Linked DNA regions of Homo sapiens: regions 1, 2 and 3 are each linked to region 4. Evidence: promoter capture Hi-C in human tissues and cell types (Jung and others, 2019). All regions are on one chromosome and are shown on one strand. Each heading gives the region's core, a stretch centred on a gene start or on the middle of the fragment in contact. The rest is flanking DNA. Distances are from core to core; before and after follow the strand shown.

Region 1 (5,713 bases), core at 1,237-3,736, 590 kb after region 4:
TATGGCTCAAAATATATCCAAATTAATGTTCCATGTTTGTTCTGTCTTATTGATTTGAGTGTTCTTCAATGTCAGTTTGTTCAAGCTAGTTGATAGAGTTTTTCACATCTTCTGTTATTCTTGTTGTAACTTTGGATTTGTCTATTCCTCCTTTCAGTTCTAACAATGTTTTCTAAATATATTTTGAAGTGCTGTTATTGGGTTTGTATTATTTTAAGATTGCTATATTTTATTGATAAATTAACTTAAAAATCCTTATGAAATGTTCCTCTTTATTCCTGGTAATATTCTTTGTTCTGAAGTCCATTTTGTTTTATTTTAATAAAGCTACTCCAATTTTCTTTTCACAAATGTTATTATAAAATAATGTCCTTTTACTTTTCTATCCTTTAATTTTAACTTACCTATATCTTTATATTCTGTCTTGTAGAAATAATATTTTGGGCCTTGCTATTTTCTCCATTCTGAAAATTTCTTTTAATTGGGATGTTTAGACCATTTACATTTAATATAATTATTAATATGACTGGGTTTAATTATTTTATCTTGTCATTTGTGTTTTATTTGTCTCATTTGTTTATCATTTTATCTTTTTAAACTGCTTTATTTTGGATAAAATAAGTTTCTTTGTGGTCACTTCATTGCTACTGAAATAGTTAGTATTTTTTTCCCCCCAAGTGTCATGTTGAAATGTGATTCCCACTGTTGGAAGTGGGGCCTGGTGGAAGGTGATTAGATCATGGGGGTAAATCCCTCCTGAATGGTTTAGCACCATCCCCTTGCTCAGTTGGTTCACGTGAGACCTGGTTGTTTAAAAAAGCCTGGAACTTCCCCCTTCTCTCTTGCTCCTCCTCTTACCATTTGATGTGTTGACTCTTCCTTCACTTTCTACCATGATTATGAGCTTCCAAAGGCCCTCACCAGAGGCAGATGCTGGAGCCATGCTTGTACAGTCTACAGAACTGTGAGCCAATAAAACCTCTTTTCTTTATATACTATCCAACCTCTGTCATTCCTTTATAGCAATGCAAAAATGGCCTAACACAGCTACCATAAGCTTATTAGCTATATCTTTTTGGCTTGCTTTGTATGCATGAGTGTATGTGTAGTTGCTCTAGGATGTTTTGTTTATATATTTAGCTTTTTATACTCCATCTTTGAATAATACTTATTCATTATAATGTAAGAAACATATGTTTTTATTTATCCTTCCTATTCTTTGTGCCACTGTTGTCGTCTATTTTATTTTTATCTGTTATTTTCCCCAGAAAATCTTGTATTCCTATATAAACAGAAAATTTTAAAAGAGATTTAAAAATGAGAAAAAATGTCTTTTTCTTCACCCACATACTTATGGGTTTTGATAGTCTTTATTCCTTAATAAATCCAAGCGTCCTCTTAGGTTGTCTTCCTTTTGCCTGAAGAACTTCTTTTAATGTCTTTTGTTAAAACTTTCTTTTTTTTTTTTTTTTAGAGATGAGATCTTGCTTTTTTGAGATCTTCCTTCCTTCTCATTGAGTTTGGAATAAGTCAGTAGATTTTCTTCCCCAGACTTTAAAGATGTTGTTCTATTCATCACAAGTTTCTGATGTAACATTGGATAGTATTCTTACCTTAGTACATCTTTATGTAATGACTTTTTCTTTTATTGCTTTTAAGAATTTATATTGATCACTTTTTTTTTTGGCAGTTTGATCATGAAGTGTCTTTTGTGTTTTTATTCGGGGGTTTACCTTCTTACAGTTTGTTGAATTTTTTGGATATGTGTGGCTCTAATTTTTGTTATATTTTTGGCCTTTATGTCTTAAAATACTTTTTCTATTCCTAACCCTCTTTCTTATTTTTCTGGACTCTAGTTACACAATATTAGTTTGCCATTTATTTTATTTTATTTTTTTTCCAGTCCTTTTTTCTGGGTACTTTATTTTGGTTTGTTTCTGTGATAGCCACCAGGCTGAACTAGGACATGAGTCACCTTCAGTTCTGCAAGAAGCCATTAGAGAAGAAAGCTGCAGATACAGCAGCTTGCCTGGAATTAAGTCATTATAGTTTCAAAATTCCAAATATAAGAGAAAATTATATTCCAAATACAAATACTATCTTTCCTCTTACATTCCTCAGCGTGGTTCCTTAAGTATTACATCATCAAGATTCTCCTATCAGTTCATATTTATTTCTCTTCATTCCTTAATACTAGAATCTGTTCTTAAGTCAAGCTAATATTATCACTGTTCAATAACCATACCATACTCCTTCCTAGCTCTGTGTTTCCTGTTCTCCTATATGGAATAGGAATGTACTTCTTTGTTTTCCTTATTTCAAAATAATGAAATACTCCAGACACGAAAGATTGGGTAAACATTTCTGTAAGCCAAATCCAACTCGATCAAATCCTTTCTTCAGATTTTTTTTTCAGGAAATAAAGCATATCTATATCTATATGTATCTAGGTAGATATAGATATATATCTACCTAGATATATATATATAATTTTTCTTCCCTGTGCTTCCTCTCTAGAGGTAACCATTATCTGAATCTCCAGTCATATTTTATATTATATATATTACATATATGTATATGTACATATTAGCATGTATGCATATGTATATATAACACATATTTACATATTTATATGTATATATTGTTATTCTTTTATTTTATTTTAATAGTTTTTTGGGGAAAAGGTAGCTTTTGGTTACATGGATAAGTTCTTGAGTGGTGATTTCTGAGATTTTGATGCACCTGTCACCTGAGCAGTTTATGCTGTACCCAATATGTAGTCTTTTAACCTTCACTCCCCCCCAACTTTCCCCCATGTCCCCAAAGTCCATTATATCATTGTTATGCCTTTGCCTCCTCATAGCTTAGCTCCCACTTATAAGTGGGAATGTAAAATATTTAGTTTTCTGGATATTGTATGTTCCTGAGTTACTTCACTTAGAATAATGACCTCCAGCTCCATTCAAGTTGCTGCAAAGGCCATTATTTCATTCCATTTTATGGCTGAGTAGTATTCCATGATGTATATATGCCACATTTTCTTTAGCCACTTGTTGATTGATGGGCATTTAGGCTTGTTCCATATTTTTGCAATTGTGACTTGTGCTGCTATAAGCATGCATGTGCATGTGTCTTTTTCACGTAGTGACTTCTTTTCCTTTTTGGTAGATTCCTAGTAGTGGGATTGCTGGATAAAATGGTAGTTTTATACTTTCAGTTCTTTAAGAAATCTCCATACTGTTTTCCATAGTCATTGTACTAGTTTACATTACCACCAGCAGAGTGGTACATCTCTTTTTGCCACATCCATGCTAACATCTATTATTTTTTGATTTTTAAATTATGGCCATTCTTGCAGGAGTAAGGTGGTGTCTCATTGTGGTTCTAATTTGCATTTCCCTGATAATTACTGATGTTGAGCATTTTCTTCATATGTTTGCTGGCTGTTTGTATATCTTCCTTTGAGAATTGTCTATTTATGTCCTTTTCCCACCCTTTGATGGGATTATTTGTGTTTTTCTTGCTGATTTGTTTGAGTTCCATGTAGATTCTGGATATTAGTTTTTTGTCTGCTGCATAGTTTGCAAATATTTTCTCCTACTCTGTGGGTTGTCTGTTTACTCTGCTGATAGTTTCTTTTGCTGTGTAGAAGCTTTTTAGTTTAATTAGATCCTATTTATTTATTTATTTTTGCATTTGCTTTTGGGTTCTTAGTCATGAATTCTTTGCCCATATCAATGTCTAGAAGAGTTTTTCTGATGTTATCTTCTAGAATTTTTATGGTTTCAGGTCATAGATTTTGATCGTTGATCCATCTTGAGTTGAGTTTTGTATAAGGTGGGAGATGTGGACCCAGTTTTACTCTTCTACATGTGGCTTGCTAGTTATCCCAGCACCATTTATTGACCAGGATGTCCTTATATATATATGTATATGTATATATTTACATATATGTTGTATTAGTCTGTTTTTGTGCTGCTGATAAAGACATACCTGAGACTGGGAAGAAAAAGAGTTTTAATTGAACTTACAGTTTCACATGTCTGGGGAGGCCTCAGAATCATGAAGGAAGGCTAAAGGCACTTCTTACATGGTGGCAGCAAGAGACAATGAGGAAGAAGCAAAAGCAGAAACCCCTGATAAACCCATCAGATCTCATGAGACTTATTCACTATCATGAGACTAGCATGGGAAAGACCGGCCCCCATGATTCAATGACCTCCCCCTACCCTAGGTCCTTCCCACAACATGTGGGATTGTATCTTGGAGATACAATTCAAGTTGAGATTTGGTGGGGACACAGCCAAACCAATCATATGTATATATGCATATGTGTATATTAAAGCATATACGTTCATATTTATATGTATATATTACATATATATGTGTTTTGCCTTTTTTGTACTTTATATAAATGATATACTATACATGTCACTCTGCACTTGCAACATTATATTTATGAGACATATTTATGCTGAAATATAAAGATGTTATGCATTGACTTTTAACTTCCACACAGTAATTTATTCATTTTATTGTATGAACATACTACAGTCTACTTATTACTTGTTGACAGACATTTAGTGTCTTTCCAAATTTTACTGTAACAAACAATGCTCCTACAAATATTTGTGTACTTTATGTAAAACTCACGTGCATGTATTAAAATTTCTCCAGGGTATATATCTAGAAGTAAAATTAGTATGAAAAAAGTATGCAGTATGCATATCATTGTGGGCTATTGTCTGTTTACATTATATGGCTATTGTATTAGTTAACACTTTCACCAGCAATTTATAAGATTCTCATTTCTCCTCATTTTCCCACATATGCATACATACATAAATACATACATACATACCCTTTGTGACTTATTTATCAAATAATAGTTAATGATATGTCTGAGCAATGCTAAAGAGATCAACTATGGATATGTGCTATTGTACATAATAACCATTCTCCTATTGTAATATAATTACATCATTGTTTTCTTTTCCTGAAATCAATTTCTTTGCAATTATTTATTCAGGATAATGTTCAAATTGAAAATTATTGAGTCTAAGTTGGTGACTGTATTAAACTCTTGGTAAGTCTTTCAAAATGATTGTACCAATGTAACTATTTCAGAATCATGTATAATATTTTAATGTTTGATATTTCAATATATACATAGTTTATTGTTTTTATTAGCACGAATTATATTACTTTCAAGGTTAAACATTATAAATATATCTGTTAATTAACAAAAATCTCTTTGCAATGGGCCAAATATTTATGTCTTCCCGAAATTTATATATTGAAGTCCTATCCCCCTGATGTGACTATATTTGGGAATAGGGCCTTTATAGAGTAGTTAATGTTAAATGAGGTCATAAGGGTAGGGCCCTGATCCAATAGAATTACTAGGCAAGACACCAGAGAGCATACACTCTCTCTCTGCCATATGAGAACACTGCCAGAAGACAGCCATCTTCGAGCCAGAAGAGAGCCCTCAGAGACTCCTCACCAGAACCTGACCATACTAACACCCTGATCTTAAGCTTCCAGCTTCCAGAGCTCTGAGAAAATAAATTTCCCTGTTTAAATCACCCAGCCTATGGTAGCTTGTTATAGCAGCCTGAGCTGACTAAGACAGATTTTGTTACCAAGATATGGAATATTGCTGTAACAAATACCTAGACATGTGGAAGTGGCTTTGGAACTGAGTGATAGG
Region 2 (5,760 bases), core at 864-3,363, 720 kb after region 4:
ATTGAAATCTCTTGTGTGACATTGGGAAAGTTACTTAGCTGCATTGAACTACTGTTTTCTCTTCTATAAATGATGTTAGTCTTATCTGCTTTGCACAGTTGCTGTGAAGATGAAATGAGAAAGCATATGTGATGTTCAAGCATGGTGTCTGGTATACAGAAAGTGCTTAATAAATGATGGCTGCCTTTCCTCACCCTAAGCAGTTCTTTTTTCTGTATAGACAAGCATGATCAAACAAGGATTTCATTCAGTACTTACTAAAACCAATTTTTTTTAGAAATATTTTTCGTAAGTCATCAGTCATCATCATGTTTCTTTTCCACACTGCAAACACATGAGAAATAAAGTATATGCTAAAAAGGAAACAATTCTGAAAATCCTTTAAGATTGAACTCTCTCTTCCTGTTTTAAAAATACATCTTTTTACCTATTAAGAGAGAATTTTACGTGCCATAAATCTCCAGTAGATGTAGACAAATTTCTCTATGGTTGTCACTTATAAAAAATGTTGTGTTGACTCACTAAGTAAGAAAATGGTTAAATGGCCCTTCAAGCAATATTCCCCTTTAATTTCCTTGGCAGAAAATCCTAACATTTAAAATAAAAGCAGTTCACAAACCACCTTAAAATGTTTAACCCATGATATTTAGACCCAGAGTAAAACTTTAAATTGATACAAAGGTTAAGGATTTGTTTCAGTCTTTTCAGTTCACTGCACTATTTTTTTTCTGTGCATACATATTTCCGGTAAGCTCTGTAGTTATAACTACAGCAAGTGACACGTGATGGACCCCAAATTGCTGCACTGTGAAATATGCACAGAAAAAAAAAGACAAATGAAGATATCAAGGTCTGTTTTATTTCGCACTGAACTGTAAAATGCCACCCTTGTTGGACAGAAGATTACTGATTCTGAGCAGGGCTCGCTGACTGCTAAGTTGTGGGTAGTGTTTCACTTTCAGCAACTGTTAATATCCAGGGTTATCCAGGCATAATGACCTCACTATTTGTGACACATTGTTGAATTTTCTGGTTCTTTTAACTTATTTAGACCTTTCTCCCCCTCTCTATTCATTGGAAGACTGGAATGATCCTGAGCCGAGCGATAACTCAGGGCTGCCTGGCTATTGGTCATCCTATCAGAGTCAAGGCTGCTGAGGGAACATCACTAGAAGGATATAAATTAATCTTACAGAAAAGGTAATGCTTATAAATTATTTAGCTCAAGATAATAAATGCTAATTTCAAGAATTCTGAGCAGTTCAATTGTGATGCCTCCTGGTTTGGATTGAATATTCATTCAATGTTTAAATTTGTGTTCATAATAACAATATTAATTTCTGAATCCAAAGTAAGCTTGAAAATGTATGCCACTTAGTTTGGTAGTGTTTTAAAGATATTTAAAAGGTGAAATGTTGGCCTTCAACATGTATCTATGTCGTAGACAAACTGCTGCTTTACTCTATAATTATCAGAACTCATTTCTTTATATCCATTTTGATTGTTAATTAACAAACTTAAATTTTTGTGTATATTCATAACCTTTTTCCATCTTCTGAATACAAAACATTGAACTGTGAAAGAATAATCACAGAGACCAAAAAATGCTGGCTTGTAACGGACTGTAAGTGTCCTTCTTATTTGTTTTTTTCTGATTTAGGAAGATATAATAAAGGAAAGCAGATTGAGGAAGAAAGTTGATTTATCTCCAAGAGTCTCAAAATATTGTTTTCTAGTCACTTTCTTTTTTCTTGGTCTTTTGTTTTGATGTTTGTTTTCACTTAGTGTTGAAAAAAACAATTTCTATCATACCTCAGGACTTAAAAAGCCATTACCAACTACTTCTGGCTATATAGGCACTTAGGATATGCTTAGGCTGCAATCATCAGAGAAGTTGATCCAGCCATAAATACAGAAGGGAAGTTTTCTCTAACTTGCAAAGCAGATATAAGGATATCATGTAATGATTAAGAATGTGATCTACAGACTCAAATTCCCAGGTATAGATCCAGTCTGCACTGCTTACTCTAACAACAAAGTGTCTAAGCCAGATACTATTCTAATGTCCTTAAATCTCATTGTCAAATTTTATCCTTACAACAATCTGATAGGGTAGGTATCATTATTATCTTTACAGGTGAGGATATTGAGGTACAGAGAAGTTAATCACCTGCTCAAGGCCATACCTACTAAGTGGTTTGGCAGGAAGGCAAACCCAAGCAGTCAGGCCCTATAACCTGAAAGTAGACACTTAGCCACAACACTACACTGTCAGTCAGTTAAAGTCCAGTCAGACAATTGCCAGTGAGCGCCAAGTGTGGTAGCAGATACCTTAGTGGATGAGCAGGGTACATCACTTGAAAAAATCAGGCAGATGGGAAAGGAAGATGTTAGCTTGGTGTTATGCAAACTCTCCAGTGCTAATAGAGTCCTAAATACATAGTTCCTAAGTAGTGGCAGACAACCCTAAAGCAAGTCTCAGTTTGGTATGGAACTGTACGCAGACTGGGTAATAAGATTTCTGAAGCAAAATGAGTTCTGTAAACTAGACTCACATTGAGCATGAACTTGCAATGCCAATGCCAATGCCAATGCGAAACTATGGAACAGGGAGCCAGAGATGCTTCAGCTCATTTAGTCCACAGTTATACTAAAGAGAAAAATCAATCAATTGTAACTGACCCAAAAATGACACAGATGATAGAATTACTGGATGGGACATTAAAGCAGCTGTTTTAACTGTATTCTGTATATTCAAGAAGCTAGAGGAAAGATTGAACATGTTAACTAAATACATGGAAGATATAAAAGAACTCAAATTTCAAGAGATTAAAACTACAATATATGAGACAAAGTATACTAAACATGTCTAATGCCAGATTAGACAATGTGGAAGAAAATAGCAGTGAACTTGAGAAGATAACAAAACTATTCACAAGGAAAACCGGAGAGAAAACAAATACTTCAAAAAAAAAAAAAAGAACGGAGCATCAGTGAGATGTGAGAAAATTTCATATGGCCCAATTTCTGAGTATTTATAGTCTCTGACAGGTTAAAGCAAGGAAAAGAAAAATATTGGAGGAAATAGTGTCTGAACAATTTCTATGTGCAAAATTGAGAGCTATAACCCACTGATCCAAGGAACTCAACAAATTCCAAGCACAAGAAGCATGAAGAGACAAAACCAAGGCACATTATCATAGAATTGTTTAAAATTAGTGATAAAGAGAAAATCTTAAAAGCAGAGAGAACAGGCGTATTATGTACAAGAGGAGCTAAAATAAGGCTGACAGCAGATTTCTTGTTGGTAACAATGGAAGTAAGAAGACAGTGGAAAAACATCTTTAAAATACTAAAAGAGGAGGTGGGGAGGAACCCGTTAATATAGAAAACTTTCCCCAGTGAAAATGTCTTTCAAAAATTAAGGCAATATAAAGACCTTAAGATATTCACAAACTGAAGAACTCATCACCAGCAGATCTTCATGACAAGCAATGTTAGAGGAAGTCCTTCAGACAGAAGTAAAATGATACCAGATGGAAATATAGAGCACTGGCAATGGTGACTATATAGGTAATATAACAATGCTACTAGGCCTGGCATGGTGGCTCATGCCCGTAATTCCAGCATTTTGGGATACTGAGGTGGGCAGATCACTTGAGCCCAGGAATTTGAGACCAGCATGGGTGACATGTGGAATTCCATCTCTACAAAAAATAGAAAAATTAGTCAGGTTCAGTGAAGGTCTACACCTGTAGTTCCAGCTCCTTGGGAGGCTGAGGCAGGAGGTCGAGGCTATAGTGAGCCATGATTGCACCACTACACTCCAACCTGAGTGACAGAGCAAGCCTGTGTGTCAAAAACAAAACACCCCCAAAACCCCACAGTGCTAATTATTTTTGTCTCTTTAAAAAATAATTGATTGTTTAAAGCAATAGTGATAATAATAATATATTGTGGAGATAATATGTAGAAATAAAATGTGTGATGGAAATAACACAAATGCCACTAGGAGAGAAATGGAAGAAAGATTTTTTTATACCATTTGTGAAATGATGTGATATCAAATGAAAGTAGATTATGATAAGTTAAAAATATATAATCACCAAAGCAATCATTAAAATAGTAGAGAGTTATAGCTAACAAGCCAAAAAAGTAAATAAAATGAAATATTAAAAATAATTAATCCAAATCAAGACAAAGAGGAAAAGGGGAACAAAGAACAGAAATAGAAAATAAATAACAAGATGGTAGGCTTAAAGCCACGTGTATCAATAATTGCATTAAATATAAATAATGTAAACACCCCATTTAATAATCAGACATTATTAGATTAGATAAAAAACAACATCCATCTATATGCTACCTATAAGAAATTAACTTTAAATATAAAGAAACAAATATGTTGAAAGTAAATTCATGAAAAATATATACAATGATAAAATTAATACAAAGAAAGTAAGAATGGATATATTAATATCAGATAAAGTAGACGTCAGTAAAAAGAATATTACTAGGGATAAATAGGGCCATTTGATGATTAAGGGGTTAATTTATCACGAGAACATAACGATTCTAATTTTTTAAAAATGGCACAGCTTCAAAATACCTGAAGTGAAAGCTGATAGAATTGCCAGGAAAAAGAGAAACATCTAAAACTCTAGTGAGCAACAATAATACCCTGTTTCATAATTAACAGAACAAGTGAAAAAATCTGTAAGGATATAGATGACTAGAATAACATTACAGACCAACTTTACCTAATTGATATTTATAGAAAAATGCATTCAATAACAGCAGAAGATGCATTTTTTAAAGTACATAGCATGTTAACCAAAATAGTCTATATAATGGCTATGAAACAAGTTTAAATAAGTTTAAGAAAATTCAAGTAATATAGAGTGTGTTCTCTGATGATAATGGAGTTAAACTAAAATATAGTGGCAAGTTTTCTGCAAAACCCCCAGATATTTGAACACATTTATAACAAACCCATGAATCAAAGAAGGCATCAAAATGGAAATTAGCAAGTATTTTGAACTGAATGAAAATGAAAATACAACATATTAAAATTTATGAAACACTGCCGAGGTTTTCAGAGGGAATGTTATATAAATGTCTGTGTAAGAAAAGAAGAAAGATATTAAATCAATGACTTCAGCTTCCACTCTAAGAAACTGTAAGAGCCAATGAAACACAAAGTAAGCAGAAGAAATGGGATAATAAAAGAGTGGAAATCAGTAAAATAGAAAAAAAAGAAAACCAATGAAATTAAAAGCTGGATTTTTTTGAAAAGATTAAAAAAAACTAATAAATCTCTAGTCAGATTGTTCAGATAAAAAGAGAGGACACAAATTACCTGTATCAGCAATGAGAGATATCACGCAGTTATTAAAGGGATGATAAGGGAATATTTTGAACAACCATGTGCCAGTAAATTTGTCATTTAGGTGGTAAAGACCAATTCCCTTAAAAGACACAAATCACCAATGCCTACTCAAGAAAAAATGGGAAACCTGAATAGTCCTACATCTCTTAAAGAAATGGAAAACCTTCCTACAAAGAAAACTCCAGACCCAGATTACTTCACTAGCTTCACTGGGAAATTCTGCAAACATTTTAGGAAAAATAATACCAATTCTACACAATCTTATCCAGAAAAGAAATAAGAAGGAATACTTCCCATCTGATTCTAGGGGGTCAGCATTATCCTGGTCACAAAACTTAGGGAAAAAATCATAGACCAGTATCTCTCATGAC
Region 3 (5,505 bases), core at 1,644-4,143, 700 kb after region 4:
TTTCTAAACCCTAGATTCTGAGTAATTAACATGCAGCCTTGGTCTTCTCCCTGCTCATTGTGAGCAAGTTCAGCTAGTTTTGCTTACATCTTAGGCACTCTTACCTTTTTCTGTTTTCCAGACAATTGGGATGTTTCTCAGGCAGAACCAACATGCTCAGGCTCTTTATTTTGGGTCTTTGTCTTGCATAAAAGGACACTGAACAGCCTGTTGTTTACAAATTGGGGTTATGCACCCGAGCGCACAGCAGTGTTTTGGGCTCTCTTGCCTTGCCTTTGTTCAGTAACTTGCTCCCTTTTTCTCCCTTCAGTTCAGCACCCTCAGACTTACCTCTCCTGGTGGTATCCATTACCTGGCTTTTACAGCCAATCGAAAAAGTTGTATATGAATTGGGATGCTCTCATTGGATCATTAGCTGGACCTGGAAGAGAGGAAGAAAAGCTACTTTGATTAGAGAGAGAAGGATCCAGAGCCTTGGCTGGTTTCTTTTTACCATAACATAACTGATTACACAAATCACCATGACACAAAGGCCTTCATAGGATTTTTCACCTGTCTCCCCGGCTTTTTACATTAGAATATTTTACCAGCCTGAGCAACATGGCAAAATCCTGTCTCTACAAAAAATAAAAAAAATTAGCCTGGCATGGTGGCATGTGCCTGTAGTCCCAGTTACTCGGGGGCTGAGGTGGGGGGATCACTTGAGCCTGGGATGCTGAGGTTGCATTTAGCTGAGATCACACCACTGCACTCCAGCCTGGGTGACAGAGTGAGACCCTGTCTCAAAAAAAAAAAAAAAAATGAAGATATTATTCTATAGAAACTTTTTGTGTTGACTTATAGCACACTGAAATTGAGCTGTGCTGTGCTTCTGTATGCAATAAATCTGGGGCAAAAACATTAATTAGGGGCATTATAAAGTTCTTTGGGAGAGCCCTTGTGACACCACCCAAGGACAACTGCTCCCTTGTGTGGACACGTGTTTCAATCACTAGCCTAAGATGTTTCACACTCTTTTCAGGTTCTTGAACAAATTCTTATGCTATAAAGGCCTGGTGATGATAGCTTTAAAGATAAATGGGTGAAGATTATCACAATTTTTGGTTGCCACAGCAAAGCCCTAACCAATGACCTAAAGATGAAGGGCACAGAGGCCCTTACCTCCTGAAGACTGTTGAATGCTCATCTTTGAACACCTAAAATGCAGTCTGTCACCAACTTGAGAAAATAGAGATTGCAATGCAACTCCTGTGAAAGTGAATTTGGTTAAGTGGTCAGATGCTCACATCACATGTCTACCTCGCATCCCTCTTCTTTGTACACACATTTCCTTCCTGGATCAGGCCTTAAATCTTTGGTATCATTCCTTTTTATAAAAAGGTGATGCCTGTAAAGCAAAATCTCTGTGATTTAAAAAATGATCAGCATAACATGTTTTCTGAAATAATAGCAAAGCAACAAAAATAAGCTCAAGAGCTGAAACCACACAAAAATAAATGTAGGGCTTTAGAAATACAATCTATAGATTTCAAAATATGTTTGCCATTTCCATGGAAAAATAACCAAGGCAATATAGATTTTTACTATTCTAACACCTTTGCCTCTTATACACCTAAAGAGGAGAGTAATGATCATTTTTAATTCAAAGGAATTGGCTATGCTGGATGGGAAGTATTAATGCCTTTCCAATGCTCAAGACTAAAAATCTTCAGCTAATGAAAACACTAAGTTGGAGATACTATTACGTATCTCTAAGTAGGACAAAGCCTAATACTTAGATCCTATACATGCAGTTTCTGGTCAAAAGAAATATTTGCTCAGTCAAGAGTTTACAGCCAATCGTGAGACACCTGAGATGCATGGAAGACCTGTGACTTTCCCTTCTTTCCTCTAAGCCTCAGCATTTAGCACTTCTCAATATACCCTCAATGGGGATTAATAGAGGAGCAAAAAAGAAAAGAAAAGAAAGGACCCTGAACTGCAGTTAGGCCAGAAAAGACCACAGCTATATCTACATCCCTGCAGGGATTACAGGATAACAAGAAACCGAGAGACACAAGAACTGACAAGGGAGAGATGAAAAGGAACCCCGTGACAGAAGGCTGGGGGAAGAGTGATGGATAGGGTGGAGTGCAGAGCAAGGAAGAGCAAAGGCTGAAACACTTAAACAAAGGTGACAGAGGATAATGAAAAATGTCTTTTCAAATACCATATGCAGCACAGTTCTGTTAGATTTACTTTATATTTGAAATATGCCCTAAATTAGAAATATCTTGATAATTTAGAGACTCTAAATGCAAGATAGAAGCAAACACTGATAATGCTATTATCTTAAATATTAAATGACAGCTTTTCATACTTCACACTTCCATGATGTCTTTCTTACAACTTAAAAACATTCATTATTGAAGATGTCCACAAGCTATTTCAGGGTTCATAATTAAAATGCTTCTAGGGAGAGATCTTTGTAAGTGAACCAACTTAGGCTAAAAGTCATTTTAATTTTGGCAGTTGTCCTACTACTGGTTACCTGAGATTTGCTGGGGACAGGGAGATTGGTGATTGTGAAACTTGAACGTGGTCTGGAAGGCCCCTAACAAAATGTGTAGCTCAGACAAGAAAAGCGTAACCCTTATCAAAGAGGACCGTTACCATGTGTAGAAGCTAAATGCTCTTTCTGTAAGACTGTCACATCTGCTTTCAGTCCCCGTGCCAAAGGGTCAGAGCTCAATCACAAGCCTGTGGCCCCCCCTGCTGGTTAAAAGCCCATGCTCATTTTGTTACTTTACACTGAGCTAAACATTGCCGTCATTTCACACTTCTTTTAACATTCTATATGAATTTAATTATCATTTGTTTGGACTTCATTTGTTACAGAGTAGAGACAGTTTATTACAGATGTTCCCATTTTAGGTTATTTATTCTCCTCTATCCCCTCTGCCCCTCTAACCCCCAACCAGTTACTTCTCAAGATTCATCAAAGGCTTCAAGGTTCTTCCATCAACCCACCAGGCCTCAATTATTCTTCAATGCGGCTTTTTGATGAGAATGGCCAAGAAATTAAGAATCCACTTTCGCTGAAGAATGAGCAAAAAATTTGGGTCTCTTATGGTAGAGCATACAGGTAGGAGCAAGGGGTTTGTTTTCTGTCCTCAATCTTTCCAGGGGAGAGCTAATTTGAAAGCGGATTTGAGAAGTCAAGTAGCACCCTTCATGAAACATTTTTTATTTTGAATTCCAATAAAATTTTAGAGGTGTTTTTGCAAGGCAGTATTGTTGGTGGAATATGACATCTCCTTCTCTCTCTCTATCTCTGTCTGTGACTTTCTGTCTTAATGCCTTGTCATAGTTCTTGAAGTCTGCCTGTCAGCACAGCAAGAGGGATTTGTTCATGTCTGAGTAGTCACCTTAATGATAGCAGATGGAAACGCCACGGGGGGCCCAAGCCCATCACACTGTCATTGTCGCACACTGCCCTGACCTGCTTCCACTCCTCTATTTTTTTTGTCCCTTTTTAAAGGAGAAATGGATGGTAATTGAAAAGGATCTTAAGCAAGATTTATGAAGCTGTAGACAACATGATTCCCCACTATCTCTCTATGTTTTCACAAATAAAGTCTTAACCTTTTAAGCACCAATGACAGGACAGCTAAAGATAAATTGGTAAAGCTTGTAAGCCCTATCCTATCAAAGTTATATTCCTCAAAAGCACCTTACATTATCCCACAATAATTACTGGTTATTGCTGAGCATTGTGTAAATTTTTGTAGATTGGTAAATTCCTGCATAAAATTATCTGTGTTTCTGAAGAAAGAAAAAGGCTGCAGTATATAGGCACTGATGAGCTGGGCTGTTGTTTTCAATATCTAGGAAATTTATGCATATTTTGACAGAACACATCCAGATGAACTCTGAAACTGCTTGTCAGGAAACTTAAACACACTTCTCTATTTTTAATTTTTTTAGCTTATTATCTGTAGAACAGAATAAGGGAAAATAATTTTTCATATAGAGTATAACTGATCATATATTAACTATAATGAAAATAGCATAAATAAACCTAAATCTTAGCAAAGCAAGGGCTATTGGATTTGCTATATATTCAAATAGTTAAAATTTCGAATACTGAAACAAATGTACTCAGAAATCCATCAAGGTTTTGGAAGATGTTGCTAGAATAAGTTGTGGATCACATGTTACAAAATTTTATTTCATCTGTCCCAGATGAAATATTAAAATGCTTGATGATTTCTTAGGCTGTGTAATTTAGAGAATTAAAAAATCTCTAAGGAATGGTAAGTTTTTGTCCATAGATAAATTTCAAAATATAATTTAATTACGTTGTAAGTAGAATTGTTTTTTCAATGATAAAAACTGATGAATTTTAAAGTGGCAAGAATTCTTGAGTAATCTAGTAAGCCCTTCCTATTACAAGGATAGGCTTTAATAAAATGTGTCATTATTATTTCTTTTTAATATTATTGTCAAAGTGAAAGTAATGACTCACTAATTTTGATACGTTTAATGATGTTTGCTATAATACAGCATTTTAATAATATTAAACATTTGTTTTTGGCTAATTGGATCATATTTGCGGAATAACTGGTAAAATGCCAAAAATCTGAGATATTCTAAAAATCAGCTGAGAATTGTAGTCGGAGAAATTTACCAGTGCATATATTTATTTGTATTTCATTGTGATTTTAACAGTTTAATGTATTTTTTTGGTTTCCAGTCCAACATAAAGCACCAGGAAACCATTACAGCATTTTGCTACCATAGGAATGTTTAAAATGTATATGTCTAAAAAGTTATTGCCGTCTAGTTTGAAATATGTTGAGAAAATGTGCAATACGTGTTAAGTAAATCGTTTTCATTTTCAGTAAGTAATTCTACTGAGTCTAATTTATGTTGATTTGAAGGGGTCAAGCTACTCATTTGTAAAAGATGATTTTTGCCGATGTCCGCTTCTATTTTGAATATTTTATTTTTCCTTCAATTTTTTATTTTGAAAAAATTTAAATCTAAGGAAATTTGAAAAAATAGTACAATGAGCTCCTGTATATCTTTCACCTAGATTCACCAATTTAAAGAGTTTGCCACATTTGTTTTACCTGTTATATATCTCCCATCTCTCTCTCCCTCTTGAACGGCTTGAAAGCAATTCCAGACATTAAAATTTCACTCCTAAATGCTTCAGGTCACATAACTGAAGAAGAGTTATGTGTCACCACATTATAATATCTAACACAGTCAACAGTAATGTAATATCCTCTAATATACACTCTATATTCAAGCTAACCAAAATATGCTTTAGAGCTTTTTGTAATCCAGTATCCAAATATACTTCCTTGTATTATATTAGTTATTTTCTTTAGTTGTCTTTAATCTAGAATATTCTTTTAATCTTTTGTTTTGTTTTTCATGACATTAATTTATTTTTCAAGAGTCCAGGCATTTTTCTTGTAGAATGTCCCACATTCTGGGTTTGTCTGAGTGTTTTCT
Region 4 (5,291 bases), core at 2,792-5,291:
CTTTTCCTTTGAAGCTGAACTCTTGCCTCTTGGGGGCAGAGGTTACAGGGAAAAGAGAGATGGGGGGATCGTCACAGGGTGATGAAATGGAAAGCAAACTTTTCTAGGAACCCTATTTGCAAAAATCGGAGAGTGCCGCTGATTTCAGTTGTCCTACATGTCAGGAGTTTTAAACCTAACTCCTATCTGGACAACAGCATGGAGGGACTGGGAGGCAAAGCCTTGGGAGTCTGACCCGCTGGGCTGCTAGGAATCCCTTTGCTGGGAGACTCCACTGGACAATGTTATTTTAAAGGTATTTTGGGGGTGGGCAGGGAGAAGACAGAGAGAGAAAGAGAGAGAGAGAGAGAGAGAGAGAGAGAGAGAGAGAGACAGGCTGGCCTCCCAGAGCGAACGGAAGAGGACTGAGGACTGAACCCAGGGAGCCCCTAGCACTGGCCATTTGGCAGGAGGCGAGGAAGGGCGAGGGCACCGCGGCTTCCCCCCAAGCCGAGCAGTGGCCACAGCCTGAAGGTGCCACGGGGCGGCTCTGGGATCTTCTTGGCTTTTCTAGGCTCTGGGCTCGGCGAGGCTGCCGGGTTAGCGGGAACCGGCAGGTTGCTGGAGAAAGGAGAGGGACAAAGGCCTGGAAGTGGGGGAGGCACCAGGGACTGGGCGGCCGGGATGGGAGCCTTTGCCTTTAGGGCTCACTGGACCCGTTTGCCAGCTCCGCGGACAAGGGATCCCACCTTCCCAGGGTCTGCAAAAAGAGAGACGTTTGGGGCACTACAAAGTGACGCAGGTGTCTGCCAAGACTTTCCTTCTCCAAAAAATGCCAGTCTTCACCCTTTCCAGCGCGCCGGCGCTGCGCCTCTGCTTGACCGGGGAAAGAGAGAGTTTGGAGGTGTCAGAACTGTCAGAACTCCGGATGGGAGGCTCTTGGTTCTGAAGCTGGGAGCTGGAGGCACTTCCCCCCAGAAGTGGGCACTTCTTTGCCTCCCCGAAGGCCTGATGGGGTGGGCACAGGGGAATGCCAGGGATCGGTGCGGGTGAGATGCTTGCCTCACCTCATGTTGACGCATCAATACTGGCTAGAAGCTCTGGGCAGGCTCTGGCGAGCCACGGTCCCCCAGCGGGACTCCCTCCACGCAGACAGCCCCGCTACCGGGTGGGACGACCCCGGCGGCCCCCGCGGGAACGCACCCGCCGGCCTGAGAGGTCCTCCCTCTGGCCACAGGGGGCGGAGGGTAGGGGGGAACAGGGGCCTGTGGGGAGGCGGGGAAAGGAGACAGAACCTAAAGCGCAATCCCCGCCGCCCCCCCGCGTCTTGGAGGGCAGCAAGTGGGCCTCGGGCGTGTTGGTAGCCGCAATTAAAATGGCGACCTGCGAGTTGTCTCGGTTTTGTACACACCTCTGGCAACCGCGCCCGCACCTCAGTCTCGGCCCCCACACCCCTAGGCCGCTTCGCCCCCAGAGCCGGTACTTGGCAGAGGGAGTGAGGCTCCCCACGAGGTAGAACAGCACCCCCACCTTCCTTGAGACCAGTCCAGAGAGAACGAGGAAATCTCACTCTCACCCCTCTCTCCTTAAACTTTGAAAACTCGGCCTCATTCTGGGGTTGAACTCCCCTCCCCAAATATTGACACATGGGAAGCAGCCAAGTCCTTTTTGTTTTTTGTTTGTGCGGAGGAGTTTCCAGGAGTCTTTCCCGGAGCCCCCTTCCCCACCCAATGACGTCAGTGGCATTCACTCCTCGCTCCTTGCCTTTTCTGATTTTTTGTTAAAACTTTTCTCCGCAGCGAGATGGGGGTTGGAGGGGTGGGAGAAGGAGCTGATTCAAAGAGCCAGTGCCCTGGGGGGAAATAGCAACAAGATTACGGCTGCTTCTTTCCGAGGCAAAGCTTAAGAAGGTGCTAATCCACTCGGTCGCTAATTGAGAGGTTGTAAAAATGATACTCGCCTCCAGTTCGGACAGAATCACTTCCCCCCCCCCCGCCCCCCCGCAAGTCCCTCGCTCATGCACAGCGGACTTGAGTCTTGAGTCCAAGCTTCTTTAATGCTCGCTTGGAAAGTAAAAGGAGAGAGAAAGAGAAAGCCGACTTTCGCTGGTCTGGGACTCAGGGCCGCGGCCCCACTTGCCGGCATCCTCCGAAAGTCGCGCTCCTGCGAAATGAAACCTCGCCCAGGAGGCCGCGGACCTGGACACCCGGCGCCACCTCCTTCACCTCTGACCCAGGTTTCCTCCCGGCGCTGCGAGCTCCCGGGGAAGGGTTAGAGCCGGCAGCCCTCCCCAGCCCGGGGAGGGGAGAGGGTTATGCGACCCCACCTCTGGCTAGGGCCGGGGAGGCCTTTGCTTCCCGGGAGCCCTGCCCGGGCTCCTTGGTCGCAGGGCTGCTGGGTCCCAGGCAGGAACGAGAGGGTGAGGCCCACATGTGGCCCGGCGGCCCAGGGCGGCTTGCAGCGTCCTCACTGTCCCGGCTGCCAGGGGCTGCGGCGACGCGGCCAGTCAGCAGCGAGTTCAGGTCGCGCAGATTTTATTGATGAGCTCTGACTTTCAGCACTTTCCCTAAGTCAAGAAGAGTCTAGCGTACCCTTCGGCTGCTTCATTTCAGCCTCCCTGCCTCAGCTCTTCAGCCCTATTCCCCCTCGCCCTGTCCTGGGGTGTGTACAGCAGCCCAGGCCTTCCTTCTCCTTCCCGGCTCCGTGGCCCGAAGCCGCCGAGAGAGCTCGGGACAGCGCAGGACCAGGCAGCCGCTCGCTCTCCTGTCACCTTAACTGCAGGCTCCGAGGGGCGCCTTTGGAGTGTACTGAGGTGTGTCCTAATCGTGCGGCATTCAACAAATGGACTTCTGGTGTGTGGTCAGAAGAGAAAAGCCATTTACTTACTTTCCTCCCCGGTTTTCTGGCAACAGCTGAAGGGGAGCTGCCTCCGTGGACTGAGCAGACCCAGGAGAGGGAGTCGTGGTGCGGAGACACACGCACCACACACAGATGACCGGTGGCACACACGACACACGCTGACATACCGACATCGCCAGTGGGACACACACACACACACACACACACACACACACACACACAGAGAGAGAGAGAGAATCCCTCCCAGCATTGGTCATCCGCCCCCCCACCCAGGCTTCCACTCCCCCTCCCCTCTTATCTCCCCTGGCTTCCCCTCCTCTCGGGCGCTGCGAAAAGCAGCCGCACTTAGTCAACAAATGGCACGTGGGAGAAGTTGGTGAGTGTTTGGTGAGGACTCTTCAGGGCTTTTCACAAGAACCCTCTGTACACAAAGTAAGTGGCGTGTTTACTCGGGCCTCTCCAGCCAGAGCTGTGCCTCTGCTCCGCTGCGCACCGCGGCTTCCGAAAGGAGAAAGGAGAGAAGAAAGGGCGGGGAGAGCGGGGTGGAGGATTTGGACAGGCCCTGGAGGCTTGGGCTGGGGAGGCCTCTGGCCTCGTTTAGTTCTCGGCCCGGCAACCTCCTCTCGGCCTAGGCTTCGCCGCGGCCTCCGCAGCTGGAATGGAGCTGCCAGGACCCAGTGACGCTCCCGCCCCTTTCCTCTTCTTCCAAGGGGCCAGGTGGGCTGGGGTGCGGCCGCCGCTGTGCTCTGTGTCTTGGGGCCCCGGCTGGGATGGGGTGGGGGCGGGCGGGGGCGGGGCGGCAGGCCACGCTGTCCTGGAGTTGGCAAGAAAGGACAGCACAGAAACTTGCACCCTCCGAGGACTGGGAGTCCCGAGTCCAGCTTAGGGGGAGTGGGGGCGCGACCCCCAACCCAGAAACCTTCACTTGACCGCTCAAGTTCGCGGCAGCAGGGCGGGCCGCGCCGAATCTCGGCGTGCGCGGAGCGGGGAGATGCAGGCGAGCGCCAGAGCCCGGGCTCGGGGGCCCTGCGCCGGGGAGAGGAGCCGGGACCCACCGGCGGAGCCGAAAACAAGTGTATTCATATTCAAACAAACGGACCAATTGCACCAGGCGGGGAGAGGGAGCATCCAATCGGCTGGCGCGAGGCCCCGGCGCTGCTTTGCATAAAGCAATATTTTGTGTGAGAGCGAGCGGTGCATTTGCATGTTGCGGAGTGATTAGTGGGTTTGAAAAGGGAACCGTGGCTCGGCCTCATTTCCCGCTCTGGTTCAGGCGCAGGAGGAAGTGTTTTGCTGGAGGATGATGACAGAGGTCAGGCTTCGCTAATGGGCCAGTGAGGAGCGGTGGAGGCGAGGCCGGGCGCCGGCACACACACATTAACACACTTGAGCCATCACCAATCAGCATAGGTGTGCTGGCTGCAGCCACTTCCCTCACCCACACTCTTTATCTCTCACTCTCCAGCCGCTGACAGCCCATTTTATTGTCAATCTCTGTCTCCTTCCCAGGAATCTGAGAATTGCTCTCACACACCAACCCAGCAACATCCGTGGAGAAAACTCTCACCAGCAACTCCTTTAAAACACCGTCATTTCAAACCATTGTGGTCTTCAAGCAACAACAGCAGCACAAAAAACCCCAACCAAACAAAACTCTTGACAGAAGCTGTGACAACCAGAAAGGATGCCTCATAAAGGTGAGTCCGCTTCTTTCTTCTCGCTTTATTTTTATTGCAATATTCAGACAGGTCTCCCCCTTCCTCCCCCCTTCCTTCCTCCCCTCTCGCCGGTCCCCTCCCCCACTGCTACGCCGGGAGAGTTGGGCCGGAGAAGTTTCCACGCAGGAGCCCAAACTTTCTACTTCCAGCGAAAGCCCGCGTCGGAGGGCGACTGCCGGCGAGCGGGAGCGGCGCAGGGCTCGGGGCGGGCGGCCAGCTCAGCCCCAGCGCCAGCGCCAGCGCCAGCGCGGGCTGAGCTCGCGGGAAGAAGGGAGACTCCAGGCGCGACAGCAGCCGCGGCTCCTAGCCCCAGCGTCGCCCAATGCTCCCGACCCGCGGGAAAAGACGAAGAGGCTCTGTGGTGCCCAAGGCCCTGGAACGGCCGCAGAGAGCAACCGCTGCCGGCTGCTTTGTCCAGCCCGAGGCCCAGCGAACGCGCAGAGAGCGGGCGCTCCGAGGACTCGCCGAGGGAGCGCCGAGGGAACCTGCTCGCCGCGTCTCCGCCCGCCCGCCGGCCCTCGGGCTTTGTGCCGCACTGGGCTCCGGCGCAGAAGAGTCAGCCGGCACTCGAGCGCCGAGGGGGGCACCGCGCCCGCCACCAGCCCGAGTGGAGTCAGTCGGCAAGGCAGCCGCACGCTGGAGGTAGAGGGAAGAGCGAGCTAGCGCGAGCCGGGAAGGAAGCCACCAGGCCAAGGCGGTGGAACGCGCGCTCCGAGGGAGCTCAGAGCCGAGCGG

Evidence for each region. The method cuts DNA at HindIII sites, captures the fragments that hold promoters and counts their contacts. A contact is called where the count stands out against the background at its distance.
Region 1: a contact is called between a fragment that was not itself captured here and the fragment with the promoter of PAX6 in region 4, in 1 of the 25 tissues and cell types used here (heart left ventricle).
Region 2: a fragment that was not itself captured here is called in contact with the fragment with the promoter of PAX6 in region 4 in 1 of the 25 tissues and cell types used here (lymphoblastoid cells).
Region 3: a fragment that was not itself captured here is called in contact with the fragment with the promoter of PAX6 in region 4 in 2 of the 25 tissues and cell types used here (mesendoderm cells and thymus).

What each region holds. Positions count from the first base shown.
Region 1 is chr11:31,222,468-31,228,180 of GRCh38, reverse strand. The region is part of intron 9 of DCDC1 (doublecortin domain containing 1); the gene reads left to right. Among named protein-coding and RNA genes, the nearest start is that of DCDC1, 140 kb to the left of the region's middle. The HindIII fragment of the contact is 4,220 bases long and covers 377-4,596 here.
Region 2 is chr11:31,086,833-31,092,592 of GRCh38, reverse strand. DCDC1 (doublecortin domain containing 1) reads left to right here. Exons shown (of 39, transcript NM_001387274.1): 17 at 1,082-1,200. Among named protein-coding and RNA genes, the nearest start is that of DCDC1, 280 kb to the left of the region's middle. The HindIII fragment of the contact is 4,949 bases long and covers 1-4,587 here.
Region 3 is chr11:31,104,416-31,109,920 of GRCh38, reverse strand. DCDC1 (doublecortin domain containing 1) reads left to right here. Exons shown (of 39, transcript NM_001387274.1): 13 at 2,961-3,124. Among named protein-coding and RNA genes, the nearest start is that of DCDC1, 260 kb to the left of the region's middle. RefSeq lists a silencer at 2,652-2,831. The HindIII fragment of the contact is 6,555 bases long and covers 1-5,505 here.
Region 4 is chr11:31,810,072-31,815,362 of GRCh38, reverse strand. PAX6 (paired box 6) reads left to right here and starts at 4,041. Exons shown (of 14, transcript NM_001368894.2): 1 at 4,041-4,248; 2 at 4,348-4,535. RefSeq lists a silencer at 732-986, enhancers at 1,830-2,798, 4,146-4,203, 3,906-4,475 and a promoter at 3,849-4,258. The HindIII fragment of the contact is 12,830 bases long and covers 1-5,291 here.